2 separate regions of the Homo sapiens genome follow, and region 2 is linked to region 1. The links are contacts of gene promoters, found by promoter capture Hi-C in blood cells and fetal thymus (Javierre and others, 2016). All regions are on one chromosome and are shown on one strand. The core of a region is centred on a gene start or on the middle of the fragment in contact, and the rest is flanking DNA. Distances in the headings are between cores, read along the strand shown.

Region 1 (2,720 bases), core at 221-2,720:
CCAGGTAGACCCCCTTCGCTTGAGACCTTATGCTTATCAATGTAATGTTCAACCAAGATTGCAAACAAAATGAGAAAAGTAACAAAGTTCAAATACAGAGCGGCCCAGGCCCAAAACAGTTTTGCACATCAATCCATACGCATTACAGGAAGGAGCCTCTGAAGCCATGTTTTAATCGAAGTATAACTAAGGACAAAATCGTTATTTCACTTTCCTCGTAATCATCTATAAAGGTCCATGGATCTGTCCCGTAAGGGTTAAACTTCTCAGTAACAACATTACTTAAAATGAGTCAGCTCTACAACTTAAACGGAATCCTTAAGAACAGTAAAGGATTCTGACGCGAATATCCCTCCCCCGCCCAGAAAACCACCTTCGTCCCTGCCCCTCGTGGCCGATGGCTTCCAATTTATGTTTATTTTGCCGCGGTTCATCTGTCGTTTTACTGACTGCAGACCCAGATAAAACCGTTACTCAAAGGAAAAAAAAGACAGGAAAAACATAAAATGGTTTCTTTGTCCTACGGCTCGCATTGAACCCGGCCCGACGCCCTGGGTGGTGATATCTTCTCTGAAACCGGGCCCGCAAACCCGGAGCACCCCCCCTCCCCGCTCTTCGGTGTGGCTTCCGAACGCAATGGCGCCATTTCATCGAGGGGAAGGCTGAGCGCCTTTAATGAGGTGCGCAGGACTCTAAAGATCCAAGCTCACAAAACACTCCAAATCCACCTCGAAACGATATGAAAACAGCCCGAGAAGAAAAAAAAATAGTTAACCACTTCTACTTCTTGATAGAGAAAGCACACTAAGAAAATAAAAGAGTTATAAGGAAAACGCTGAGAGGAAGGCGAGCCATGAAAATGGCGGCCGCCAAATCCGGTTCCCGGGAGAGAGGGGGAGGGGAAGCTCCGCAGCCTCGCTCACGAGGACCTGCTGCCCGCCGAAACGCTCGCCGAGGAGACGCCGTGGCCCCCGAAGCAGCGTGCTTTAGAAAGGGAATAAGAATTCCCGCCTCCGCGCCCCACTTTCACCCCAGCGGGGCAGCGTCCGCCATGTGAAAGCTCCCCATCCCCCACCCCCAGTGAAGGGAAATGGCGCCGGGAGGCTGAGGGTGGGGAAGCTGTTTGTACGCTCAGGCCTCCGCTCAAGACCCCGTTCATAAACCTTAAGCCCCACTGCTACTGAATTGGTCCGATTTCCTGCCTCTCTCCCACGGAGGCGGCTGGCCGACTTCCACTGAGGCGCCAACGGCCTCGCCATGCCCTTTTCAATAACTCATTGATTTCAAACCCGTTACCTCCATCGCGGACTCAGTCGCTTCAGCCCGATTTCCCGCAGCCGAGCGAGATGAGAGAGATCTCCGCGGACGAACACGAACCGGACTCGTCCTGGCGCTGTAGTGAGAACTGCCGCTGCTCGAGAAACAACTCTGCGAGGAGCACCTCCGCACGGGACCCGGCGCTGCTGCTACTGCCGCTAGAGCCGCTGCCGCCGCTTTTCTAGAACCTTCCCCCCCACTAACGCGTCTTCCGCTACGTCAGGCCGTCGCGTAAACGCCCTATCCGCCGCCAATGGCGGGAAGGCTCTACGCCCCACCTTACGCCAAATGCGTACTCCTCCCACCCTTGCGGCCAGAGACAGTACCCGACGTTACTTCCGTAAATGCGCTCAATGAATTGCGGAAGGCTAGAGTCCTGCTAGTTACTACCTCTTGGAATAGGGTCCCGCCCCCTGCCTTGGCGCAAGGCAGGTGAGAAACGGTCGCGCAGTTTGAAATTAACGCCGACGGGAGGGGCTTAATCCGCAGCCTGGAGATCCAGCCCCCTCAACCCGGGAGGTGGTCCCTGCAGTTACGCCAATGATAACCCCCGCCAGAAAAATCTTAGTAGCCTTCCCTTTTTGTTTTCCGTGCCCCAACTCGGCGGATTGACTCGGCCCCTTCCGGAAACACCCGAATCAACTTCTAGTCAAATTATTGTTCACGCCGCAATGACCCACCCCTGGCCCGCGTCTGTGGAACTGACCCCTGGTGTACAGGAGAGTTCGCTGCTGAAAGTGGTCCCAAAGGGGTACTAGTTTTTAAGCTCCCAACTCCCCCTCCCCCAGCGTCTGGAGGATTCCACACCCTCGCACCGCAGGGGCGAGGAAGTGGGCGGAGTCCGGTTTTGGCGCCAGCCGCTGAGGCTGCCAAGCAGAAAAGCCACCGCTGAGGAGACTCCGGTCACTGTCCTCGCCCCGCCTCCCCCTTCCCTCCCCTTGGGGACCACCGGGCGCCACGCCGCGAACGGTAAGTGCCGCGGTCGTCGGCGCCTCCGCCCTCCCCCTAGGGCCCCAATTCCCAGCGGGCGCGGCGCGCGGCCCCTCCCCCCGCCGGGCGCGCGCCCGCTGCCCCGCCCTTCGTGGCCGCCCGGCGTGGGCGGTGCCACCCCTCCCCCCGGCGGCCCCGCGCGCAGCTCCCGGCTCCCTCCCCCTTCGGATGTGGCTTGAGCTGTAGGCGCGGAGGGCCGGAGACGCTGCAGACCCGCGACCCGGAGCAGCTCGGAGGCGGTGAAGTCGGTGGCTTTCCTTCTCTCTAGCTCTCGCTCGCTGGTGGTGCTTCAGATGCCACACGCGTCCCGGGGGCCCGGTTCTCCGCTCCCCTCCCCTCCCCTTCTCGCCGGACCCCGCGCCGGGAGCTGCGGGAAGGAGTGGAGGGTCGGGCGGTGGCCTCGCGGCTGGCCT
Region 2 (2,720 bases), core at 125-2,624, 2.0 Mb after region 1:
TGCAATTGCTATCTGCCCTTGCTCACTAAAACTAAAAATAAAATTGGCTTGCGGTTTACTAAATTTGGTTGCAAGTACTTTTCCCCACCAAACCACTCTGCAATCACATCAGTCACTAATGAAAATGATTGGGAGGGGGGATGGAAAGGAGGCTGCAGTAAAAACACACTGTATATTTTCTGGAACATATGATGAAACAGAAGGTTTCACTTCTTGTTTCAACCATTTTAGCACCTTCTCCTTTTACTCAATTTCAGGGCATGAAAGAGACTGGGCAGTTGTGCAGAATATGAGGAGAACTCATTTTGAGAGAAGATTAAAACCTGGCCCACTAATAAACTATCTTCAGTTACTGTACACATCAGTCAAACCAAATAATTCACTCTCAGTTTAACTCATTCTACAGGGCTCTGGAATAATACATCACTCTTCTGATAGAGGCACAAGTCCATTAATTACCAAACTGTGCTGCCACAGAGTTATACGGTCTTCATTCTTCCCCTATAAAGTGTGTTTTAGTTTTCGAGGCAAGAGGAGAAATTCAGAGGGGAAATGAGTAATTTAGGAACCTTTTACAGCTCTCTGGCCTGCACTAAGTAATCCTTTCTTCCCTTTCAGAGTTAATCATCAAAGGTACTGAACACAGTATGGAGGGCCTGGCCACCCATGCCCATTCAGCAACTACAACCTCCACCTAAATTCAGAATTATCATACAAGAAATGACCCATGCAGAAGAGACCAAGAGAAACAACCACATCTAGGCTGTGACAGCACAGAATGTATGTGTGTGTCTGTGTGTGTGTGCACGCGCACATGGGAAGTATAGGAACCAAATACCTGGGTCCAAATTCTAACCCTGCTTCTTCCTGGGAAGATGATCTTGTGCAAATTAACCTCACAATGCCTCTGCTTTTTGATCTGGAAAATTATCTTAAGGGTATAAGGGTACCTACCTGATAAGGTGTCTATGAGGTTACATAAGCTAATGTAGGTAATGTCCAAATCACAGTAGCTGGTATGTACATATACATACACCCTTGATAGATACCTTATTCATTCAATCCAAATTGCCACTCACTCCAGCACACTGGTATCTCTGGCTGCCAAGAGTTATGCAACAACATACTTAAACACCAAATCATCTAAATCATTTGGGTGGAACCATCGATCCTTAACCAGGCTTGTGAAAGGTTCTCTTGGCTCTGTTTACTTTGGACAGGCATCAAGCGTCTGTTTTCCTCAGAATCTGAAAGTCACTGGGTCAAGGCTGTAGAGGCCCCTTTTCACACAGAGGAACCAGTCAAGGACTGAGATTGCTCTGTGTGGTGGTGGTGGTCACCTGGCCAATTGCATGGGGAGTCACTTCGTGGCTTTGGCAGAGTCTGCCACTGTCTGCTAGAATAAATGTGGAGCCAAAATATGATTTGTCTATTTTGACTTGTGTACATTTTCTGAGTACAAGAGACTATTGATAAGAAGTTTAGGTAAGTGGAGAAAATGTTTGTTGATTCCCCAGAAAGCACAAAATGTTCATTCAGTGAAGAGAGAAGACCATTCGCTCATTATAGTTATGAATTAACGCTACATCTTCTACAGCAGAGGTTCCCAAGAGTGTATTGAAATTACCTGGGAATTTGTTGAAACACAAATTGCTGGGTCTCAGCCCCATAGTTTCTGATTTCGTAGGTGTGGGGCAAGAGGACACAGTGTTGAGAATCTGCACATCTAATACAATAATCCAGAAAATACTGCTGCTGCTTGTCCAGAGACCACTCTTGGAGACCACTGCTCTATAAGCAAGAGTACGTCACCAAGAAATTTAAATTCAGATCCTAGAACTAGAACACTACCAAGCAAGGGGGGAAATCATTCTTATGAGACAGTCATTGAATGAATGCATGAATCAAAGGGCAGATAAATACCTTCTCTTCCATCATATGCTACATTTCCCATATTTGTTTATACCGGACTCCATACTACGTATAAATAAAGACAGTCTTCAATATCCATTAAGATGACCTTCGATATCCTTCAACCAACCACAGTGGATTCTGAAAGCATACATACATGTGCATGCACACAGCCCCTGTGGTGGTCTGCTCAATGTAACTCAATCTCCTCTCTCCTTCCTTTTAATAGCAGAACCTCCAGAGTGTCTGCTGGGCAAATGGCTGCCCAGCTGCAGACTGATCTCCTCAGCACCCCCACAGCTAGGTGTGCCCACTAAGTCCCTCTTCCCACAGGCTGATAAGCAGACAAAGTGAGAGGAGGCTGGCCTCAAGCACTGAGTCAGGACCACAGCCTAGAGTAGAAGGTGGCAAAGTTCCTTTGTAAAGAGCCAGACAGTGAATATTTTTGGCTTTGTGGGCCCTATCAGCTCTATCACAATTATTCAACTCTGCCATTGCAGCACAAAAGCAGTCACAGACGGTATAAAAATAAGGAGTATGACTGTGTTCCAATAAAACTTTATTTATGGACGTGAAATCTGAGTTGCAAATAATTTTCACATTTTTTCCAACCATTTAAAAATGTAAAAGCTATTCTTAGTATGCGGGCTGTACAAAAACAGGAGACAGGCCAAATCTGTCCCAAGGGCAGCAATTTGCCAACCCCTGCCCGATGGGAAGATGACACAAGACAGAAGGAACCCATCCTTAGACAGCTTCGTGGAGGAGACATACTATCCACCCTGAACCACAGTCTACTTCCATTCGTG

Evidence for each region. The method cuts DNA at HindIII sites, captures the fragments that hold promoters and counts their contacts. A CHiCAGO score of 5 or more calls a contact.
Region 2: a contact is called between a fragment that was not itself captured here and the fragment with the promoter of HNRNPA2B1 in region 1, in 1 of 17 cell types (naive B cells). The highest score is 5.5, in naive B cells.

What each region holds. Positions count from the first base shown.
Region 1 is chr7:26,199,276-26,201,995 of GRCh38, forward strand. HNRNPA2B1 (heterogeneous nuclear ribonucleoprotein A2/B1) reads right to left here and starts at 1,471. Exons shown (of 11, transcript NM_002137.4): 1 at 1,297-1,471. The coding sequence starts at 1,302. It overlaps CBX3 (chromobox 3), which reads left to right and starts at 2,470. Exons shown (of 6, transcript NM_016587.4): 1 at 2,470-2,551. RefSeq lists enhancers at 1-886, 795-914, 887-1,859, 1,025-1,414 and a silencer at 2,355-2,720. The HindIII fragment of the contact is 8,290 bases long and covers 1-2,720 here.
Region 2 is chr7:28,154,987-28,157,706 of GRCh38, forward strand. All of the region lies in intron 1 of JAZF1 (JAZF zinc finger 1), which reads right to left. Among named protein-coding and RNA genes, the nearest start is that of JAZF1-AS1, 24 kb to the right of the region's middle. The HindIII fragment of the contact is 2,804 bases long and covers 1-2,720 here.